Linked DNA regions of Homo sapiens: all the other regions are linked to region 2. The links are contacts of gene promoters, found by promoter capture Hi-C in blood cells and fetal thymus (Javierre and others, 2016). All regions are on one chromosome and are shown on one strand. The core of a region is centred on a gene start or on the middle of the fragment in contact, and the rest is flanking DNA. Distances in the headings are between cores, read along the strand shown. Region 1 overlaps TSPAN5-DT (TSPAN5 divergent transcript). Region 2 holds the start of PAPSS1 (3'-phosphoadenosine 5'-phosphosulfate synthase 1). Region 3 holds the start of RAP1GDS1 (Rap1 GTPase-GDP dissociation stimulator 1).

Evidence for each region. The method cuts DNA at HindIII sites, captures the fragments that hold promoters and counts their contacts. A CHiCAGO score of 5 or more calls a contact.
Region 1: a fragment that was not itself captured here is called in contact with the fragment with the promoter of PAPSS1 in region 2 in 1 of 17 cell types (non-activated CD4 T cells); the score reaches 7.8 in non-activated CD4 T cells.
Region 3: the fragment with the promoter of RAP1GDS1 here is called in contact with the fragment with the promoter of PAPSS1 in region 2 in 1 of 17 cell types (non-activated CD4 T cells); the score reaches 11.0 in non-activated CD4 T cells.

Annotation. Positions count from the first base shown.
Region 1 is chr4:98,661,208-98,663,907 of GRCh38, reverse strand. TSPAN5-DT (TSPAN5 divergent transcript) reads right to left here. Exons shown (of 3, transcript NR_148380.1): 3 at 1-918. All of the region lies in intron 1 of LOC112267901 (a long non-coding RNA gene), which reads right to left. Among named protein-coding and RNA genes, the nearest start is that of TSPAN5-DT, 3.7 kb to the right of the region's middle. The HindIII fragment of the contact is 4,440 bases long and covers 1-2,700 here.
Region 2 is chr4:107,718,934-107,721,736 of GRCh38, reverse strand. It overlaps PAPSS1 (3'-phosphoadenosine 5'-phosphosulfate synthase 1), which reads left to right and starts at 1,503. Exons shown (of 12, transcript NM_005443.5): 1 at 1,503-1,617. The coding sequence starts at 1,558. RefSeq lists enhancers at 51-200, 2,191-2,250 and a silencer at 1,311-1,560. The HindIII fragment of the contact is 5,198 bases long and covers 1-2,803 here.
Region 3 is chr4:98,259,926-98,262,761 of GRCh38, reverse strand. RAP1GDS1 (Rap1 GTPase-GDP dissociation stimulator 1) reads right to left here and starts at 1,378. Exons shown (of 15, transcript NM_001100427.2): 1 at 1,193-1,378. The coding sequence starts at 1,196. RefSeq lists silencers at 1,088-1,157, 1,258-1,557 and enhancers at 1,524-2,086, 1,838-2,137. The HindIII fragment of the contact is 4,992 bases long and covers 66-2,836 here.

The sequences.
Region 1 (2,700 bases), core at 158-2,657, 9.1 Mb after region 2:
TCTTTCTGCAGAGGATGAGGGAGAGTCTTGGCTTCCTCCTGGAAATGCGGACCCACCCCCAGCTTTCGGGTAAACATTGCCTGCACTTCAGCTGGGCGCAGGGTTCCCTTTGTTACTGAGACAGACTCTCAGGTTGGCCCAGCCTGAATCTACCGGGACCCCATCAACTGTGAAGTACAAACCTCGCTGGAGGTGGGAGAGCACCTTGTGGTTGAGAAGGTCTGAGAAAGGGGTGGGTGTGATCTGTCAGACACCCTAAAATGTTTCCCTGTATTGTTTGAGACAGAAACAGCTAGGGAAGAGAGGGGGTGGTGGGTGTGGGGAATAGAAAAAACGTGGTACTAAGAGAAATGCAGAAATGCTGGTGGTGATTCAAGAGGAGAAAATCAATAAAGGCTTGGGGCAGAACCTCAAAAGGTGTTTAAGTCAGGATACTTTCAGTTGTATGAAACGGAAAACCCCTGTCAAAGTATCTTAACCAAGAAATTTGTCTCATCTGACAGGAAGTCGTGAGTAAGGCCACCTTCAAGGTTGGTTAAGTCAGCCATACAACAAAGGCTGGAAGGCCCTGGTTCTTTTTATCCTTCCACTCTGCCATCCTTGGTGTGGTCTTTGTCATCAGGCTGTAGAGGATCGAGGCATCACATCCAAACCCAACCAAGTCCAAGGGCGAAAGAGACCATTTCTTAGATGCAAGGAAACCTCTAGCAGATTCTTCTCATGGCTTGTTGACCAGAATTGGGCCACCTGCCCATTCCTGAACCACACATTAGCAAGAGGAATGGGACTGCCAGATGTGACGCAGAGGGCCAGTCTTCCCAGAGCATGTGGCTGCTTTAAGAGGGGGACGCTGAACACAGCTGCTAGGGTTCTGAGAGGAAGGCGGCAGGAGGGGTGTGGAGGCAACCAGCAGGGCGGCTACAGAGAAGCAAAAGAAAAACAGAGAGGAGCAGAGAGGCAGACAATGACAGAGCCCAAGAGGAGGGAGGCAGGAAGGTGGGCAGGAACAATAAAGCACAGGTGGAGACAGACAAGCTCGTTAAGTTTGGTGTCTTAGGTTAAAACGCTGTTGTCATATCTTGCTCCTCAGCCAGGCAACTATTAGAAGAACACGCTTTACCTGTTTTCACTGCCACTTGAAGAGCTGATTAACTTGTCAGTAGTTAAACTTATTAACCATTTTTCAACCTCAGAGTTATAAGGGAGGTGGCCTTAGCAGTATTCAGACAGAAAATTTTTCTCCTTTTCTCCTTAAAATAGATCAGCATTTATTGAGTTGTGAAGGAGTTGCGTGAAATAAATATGATTACTTAGTTACTTTCTTACATCTTTATGTATAATTTTATCTTCTTAATTGTAAAAGCAATTTAACCACACTTAAAAATTGCAAACCAGAAACATGAAAACAAAATCACCCAGCCTTATAACTGTTCTTATTTGGCAAAAATTAACTCCTAACTTTTTTTCATACAACTGCATACCGTTTTGTAGACTGCTTTATTTTTCAAAACGTGTATCATATACATGGTACAAATTTCAAAAACAGACTAAAGGGGTTATTTAAAAATAAAACATGTCTCCTTCCTATCAGTATCTTTAGTCCCCCAGTTTGCCCCCCATTCCACCCTAACTCGCTGTTACCAGTTTATTTCGTTTTCTTCCATAGATAGCCTACCCATTAACAAGGAAATATGTGTATGGATATTCTTTTGCCAACAGAGCTTATCTTTTCACAAAATGATAGCCTACTGTGTACACTGTTTTTGTTCCTTGTTTTTAAAATTTAACAATATTACTTGGAGATAATTCCATATATAGTGCCTTTAAAATTTAACATTATAATGTATCCATATATTGCCACATACTCTATAAGCAGTATCTTCAAGAGCTGTAAAAACTGTGAGCAAATGACTCATTCATTCCTTTAATAAATATTTATCAAGCACCTGCCATATCTGCAGAGCTCTGGTGATTCTAAGATTACCAAGGGTTAGGTCACACCCTAGAAGGAGTCACAGCAGATTGAGGAGACAGGTAGGTAAACAAGTTCTTACAGGCAGCCTTTAAGTGCCGGGATGGAAGAACACAGCGGGTGTTGAGGGAATAAAGAAGGAGCCTCCGAGACATTGAACAAAAGTAGTGAAGAATAAGAGAAATCAGCTCACAGACAAGAGACAAGGAGAATGCCCCAGGCAGAAACTCTAAATGACATGTGCAGAGGCACAGAATGTGAAGGAACATTGTGGTCCAAGTAACTACAAGGAATTGGATATCACCCCTACTCTTTGATCTTTAATTTCTGGCCAAGTCTTCAATATAAATAATGCTATGATATACATCTTGCAGTGTATAACTTTTTCCATCTGCTGGGGTATTTCTTTGGGTAGATTCCCAGAAGAGGGACTGCTGAGTCAAAATGTAGGAGCACTCTGACCTGATATATACAGCCAAAATGCTTTCCAAATGGACATATTATTTCATAAGGACACCAACAATGTATGTGCTAACCAGTGCTCATTATTTTTGTATCTTTATTAGTTTTAATGTATACTTCATTTATTACTAGATTAATTTCCCCATATATTTTATTTCTTATATGATTTATTTTCTGTTTATACTCAACCACTGCGATTCTATATTTTACTATAGCTCTATGAGCCCTACTTATAATATAGACATTCAGGTTTTTATTTTTCATGT
Region 2 (2,803 bases), core at 254-2,753:
GGGGGCTGATTTGCTAGTCACTAACAGGCAGCAGCAGCAGCCTCAGGTCTTGGTGATGGGGGCTAATTTGCTAGTCACTAACAGGCAGCAGTCTCAGGTCTTGGTGATGGGCGGGGTCAGGGGCGGAGGGCGGCTGTGTCACAGGGGGGCAGAGCTGCAAGCAACTCTTTTGGTGCCAGGGGCAAGCTGCGGAAAAGAGAACTCAGAGTTATGGGGGGTGTGGGGAAGATAACTCCTGGAGGAAACTCTGTCATGCCCCCAGCCCATCCTCCTACGAACTAGCCCTGGAATAATTAGGTGAATTTGAAAATGTCCTCCGTAGGCGGGAGTTCTATTCGGGGTTACCTGCGGCCTCCCCGGTCCTGGATTTCAGTCCTCTAGGTATTTCCTGAGTAGCTCTTAATAATACAGAAGCCCCTTTCCGGTGTAGGTCGGTAAGAAGCACTGCACAGAAATCTGATGCGAAGTGGGGTCTCCTAGCGGAGAGGGAGGCACCTTATAAGTAATCACTAATCCAGGTTGAGATATTAATTATTGATGTCAAGAAATCGGGCTTTTATTATATCTTTTTAAAAACTGTGTCTTGAGGCCAGGCGCTGTCGCTCACGCCTGGAATCCCAGCACTTTGGGAAGCTGAGGCGGGCGGATCATGAGGTCAGGAATTCGAGACCAGCCTGGCCAACATAGTGAAACCCCGTCTCTACTAAAAATACAAAAATTAGCCGGGCGTGGTGGCACACGCCTGTAGTCCCAGCTACTCGGGAGGCTGAGGCAGGAGAATCGCTTGAACCCGGGAGGCAGAGGTTGCGGTGAGCCGAGATCCTACTACTGCACTCCAGCCTGGGCGACAGAGCAAGACTCCGTCTCAAAAAAAGAAAAAAAATTGTGTCTTGAGTAGAATTTTAATGTGGAGAATGAGCTGTTCGGTAAATCAATTCTTCCCTTTGCAAAGCTGTAAAACATTTAAAACATTTGGCCAGGGTGACATGGGCACAGAAGGGGCAGACAGGAGGTCGGCAGCCAGGTCTGTGGAGGAGTAGCCACAGGTGCAAGAGGCCGCGTCAGCGTCCTCCCAATCAGCCTCTGCTGAGGGAGTGCCGCGCGCGGCGAGCCGCGCACTCCCCTTGCCTTTCTCCCGGCGGCTGGTACTCGCTCTTAGAGATCTGCGTTAGCTCAGAGCTAGGCTCGGTGCCGCAGAGGCACCTGAGGTTCCACGACTGCATTCCAGGCCCCGCCCCTTCATCGGGATCTGGAAGGAGGAGCGCCGTGCGCGCCCGCGCCGGCGCGAGCGCTGAAGCTCCGCCCCCAGCTTCTACCTCCGGTTCTATCCCGGCGTTTCGCCCTTCCCCACAGACCTCTGCCCCGGACCCATTTCCGAGGCGCGCCGCATGCGCCGCGCAACCCAGGCCACGAGCACGGGCGCGTGCTTAAGTCAGCGCGCGCCCGCTCCGACGCGAGGAGGCCCCGCCCTCCAGCCCCGCCCCGCTCGCTGGCCTGCCCTCCTCTTGCTACCCTCCCGGCGCAGAGAACCCCGGCTGCTCAGCGCGCTCCGCGGTCATGGAGATCCCCGGGAGCCTGTGCAAGAAAGTCAAACTGAGCAATAACGCGCAGAACTGGGTAAGCTGGGGACGAAGGCGAGACGGCGAGGAGCGGAGGGGCTGTGGGAGCAGCTCGTTCCGGAGCCGCCGCCTCTCTCCCGCCTCCTCCGCATCCATCCTTCCAGGAGCGCGGAGGTGGGTTCCGGGGCTGCGGCGCCTCCCGGCTGGGGCCGTGGGTGGTTGCGAGGCAGAGGGGCGCGGCGCAGGGTGGGGATCTCGCCCTAGCTTGGCGCAGCGTGCGGTCCGAGCCACCGTTCGTGGGAAGAACGCCCCCCCTCCCCAGCGCCTCCGCTCAGGTAAGACCCCCAGGAAAATCCTTCACCCGTGAACTGGCGCTTGCTGAAACCTCCGGGTGCTGAAACCTGCGGCTGCAGAAACAGGAGCTTCCTGCATACCTTGGAGTGGCCTGAAGATGTGCAGAGAAGGCGGAGGCGGGCGCCTTCGACGCGTTCTTGGTTTTTCTTGGCTCTGCCAGTGCGGTTGGCCCAGGTTTGGGTCCATCTCCGTGTCTTTCCATTTCTGAGTTTCAGTGTGAAAGGAGAGTACCCAACAATGTGGTCATTCATGAGTTGAGACTGCCCTGAACTGAGGTTCTTTGTGTCTCTGTGTTAAATCGGAATGTTTAACAAGTAGGAGTTTGGAAGACTCCATTCCTGGTGACAGTCAGGTATGGGACCAGTCCTTTATAACGTTTAGTAATGACTGCCAGTTGACTTTGTAAAGTGCTGTGTCCTCATAACGTTGCTTACTTCCTTAATTTCTCTGTGATGAGAAAGAGCCTTATCTTCCTTTGTAAGTGTGCAGCAGGGAAGGGCCCATCTTTGGAGTCTGGAAAGGCACTGGTTTAAGTTTAGACGGAAACGTTATTTCACAGTCCAATGGAATAATAAGGTTTAAATGCAATGTCTCCCAAAACGTTACTTGCCCTAGATGAATCAAAGAAAAAAAAAACAAGCAATTTCAGGCAAATGTTCTTTGGAAGTCATTAATTTACCACATCTGTTGTTATTGTTATCATGAGTTGTTTACTGATTCCTCTCTCCTTTTATTTAACTCTATAGATGGTAAGGAGGGGAAGGAGATTTAAAAGATGAATTAGAACAGTGGAAAGAGCGCTGGACTCCTGGCCTGGTCTCTCATCCCAGCTTTGCCATTTACTAGCTGTGTGATCTTGAGGAGAGTCACTTTACTTTTTCGAACCTCAG
Region 3 (2,836 bases), core at 129-2,628, 9.5 Mb after region 2:
CCACCTAACTCTGAACGTGTTGAGCACTGTATTAACAGATGAAAGGACCACATTCATCTCAAGCTTTAAATAACTCGCACAGAAGGGGTGGGAAAAGTCCCAGCTGACAGATGCCAAGGGAGCAAATTTTAAAAAGAGGAAATTATGACAGACAGGAGTGGAAGCAAACTGGGGAACTTAGTACAAGTCGCTACTATTAAAAGAAACTTTGAGCTCTTAATTACATGACAGCATTCATCAGACGTTTCTGTGATTACTGAATGTAACAGTTAAGCAATAGATGATGTAAAAAAATTAGGTCAAATGTATATATCGTTTTATAAAACATATTTGCTCTTAAATCTCTCATCCAAACCAATCTCTTCAGATTAACTATAAATACAAAGGAACTAAAATCAGATTATGCAGATTAGACAGGAGGAAGCTGGGAAAGAATAACTACCATGTAAGTTCGGTAACAACGTTACAGGGCGCAGTTTCCTGCTACAGAAGACGGACGAAGGAATCCAGAAAATAGGCTGGGCACGGGAATATTGCACACTGTAGTCACCCAGCACTAATTCAACAGCTAGCGGCTCTATCCTGCCTCACGTTCCTCGTGGCCTCTGACAAGTCATCCTTTCAACCTATGAGGCTGTCCGCTCTCCCCCTTGGAAAATAATTTCCGTGCAGGTTGTAAGATCTCCCTCACAAACTACTTGCTTCCACTTCCCCGCCCGGGATGAGGAGTCTCCACGACGGGGAAAGGTCGCACTGACAGAGAAGGAAGTTACACGAAGTGGTAGTGGTCGGACCCGAGCCTCGAGCTCAGTACACGCGGGGGAAAAGGAAGCGGGCGGCCTCTGGAGAAACGGGGATGGAGCTGCAGATGCGAGCCCGCGAGGCAGGCTCCGTGGTGCCCGGGCACCGGCAGGAAGAATGGAGGAGGGGAGGCGAGGCTGCGAGGTGCCGGGGAGCCGGGCGGCGGTCCGGCCCGCGGCCGACCCCACCCCAGCCCGCGCTCGGGACCCTCCCAGCCCCGGCACCCGGCGTGCGTTCCGCGTGCGCCGACTCTCCCCGGAGGAACAGCCACCGTCTCACACCCGGGGACTGGAGAAATCCGGCAACTTTGCGCGAGAAATGCTTCCCACCCTGCAGCACGCCGAGAAAGAAAAAAATGTCAGGCGATGACGGCGGAGGAAGGATGACTTACCCATGTTGCTCCCCGAGGGTGAGGAACCGGCGGGGCGAGGCGAAGGTCTGTGGTGCGGGCGGCGCGGCTCTGTGTCCTCCCTCTACCTCCGTCTCTCCCGCAGCCAGGGAGGGACCCGCGGGGGGCGGCCGCCGGGGAGGAGCAGCTGGTGCTGCTGCAGGCGGCGCGGCCGCGGCGGGGACGAGCGGCGGGGGGCGGGGCGGGGCGGGGCGGGGCGGGACTGGCGGGCGCAGCCTGCGGCGGGCGCGGCTCCGAGCGGGCGGGCGGCGGAGGCGCGGGAGCCGGCCTGAAGAGCTCCGGCCCCGACTCGCAGCCCACGAGCGCCCCGCCCTCCCCACCGAGCATGCTCAGTGCCTTTTCCACCCCTCCCTCTGTGGCGAGCGAGGCTAAGCGTGCGGGTGGGCGTGTGTTTGCAGACCGGCTGCAGCCGCGGCAGAGGATCTTCATGGCGGCCGCCTGAGAGGCGGAGGGCGGGCCCGGAGAAAACAGGGAATGGGGATATTGAGCCCGATCTGCTAGCAGAGGACTCACCGCTGCCTTGCTTTCCCACCCTGACCCACCAACCCCTCACCCGGAACCCGGGCTTGCCTTCTTTACGGGACGACCGGGCCGCACAGGCCGGAATTAACCGGAGAAGAGGCTGGGCCGCCGCAGAGCCGGGAGGGGTGGTGGGAAGCCAGAGCTGACGAAGTTGGAAAGGACGTGTAGGCGACTAGGCCTGCGCCTCTTGGGGACACCTGAGGACGCCCGCTGGGCAGCTGGCTGAGGAGGGGCCGCCGGGAGGGCGCTCGATAGCAGGCGTGTCATTGGGACACTTAAGGCTGCTCTAGCTGTGGCCAGCTTAGAAACAAAGGTCCCGGCAGCGAGGAGAGCGCCCGCCCCAGGATTTCCTCGAAGAGTGTGTCGTTCTCCCTCCCGGAGGAGCGCGGCCTTCCGTTCCCCGGAGGGCTCTGGAAAGGCCCTTTAACCGGGGTGCCGTCGGGCTCCATCCTGCTGTGAAAGCGGGAGGAACTACGTTCCCCAGGCTTGAAAATAAGCGTCCTGCTGGGTTGGCTGCGGCACTGCCAAAGCTAACCCGGCGGAGGTCCTTTGATCCCGGGGCCACCGCCCGCTCCCACCACCACCTCGGCCTCGGGGAGAACCTGAGCAGGGCTCTCCCACTGAGGGCGTCCTCCCGACTGGGCATGCACGTGAGGCCGGGGCTGGCTTCGGTCCTCTTCCCTGGGGTAGGAGGCTGGAGGAAACCGATTTCTCTGCACCCTAATCTTGCCCTGGCTCCTCCTGAGTGGGGTGAGGAATCTGGTCGCTCTCCAAGGCTACAGCGACCGGAGTCCTTCAGGGGACACTGTGCAGTCAGCAGTACAACCTGTTGGAGAAAGATGGCTGAATCGAGGTGTCTTTCCCCTGTCAACTTTCACTCGGTCAATCCAATGTTGAGAAAGGGCTTTTTTTGTTTGTTTGTTAATTAGTCGCCTATTCTCACAGTCATCAGTTTCTGCTTGGTGACTAGTATTTCGAGCACACAAATCAGAAGCGACCCTGTAATTTGTTAAGCAAAGAGCAGATTTTATGTGATTTTTCTACAGCAAGAAACGATAATTAAAAAGGTTTGGTAAAACAGGAAAATACAATTTAACTGCTGAA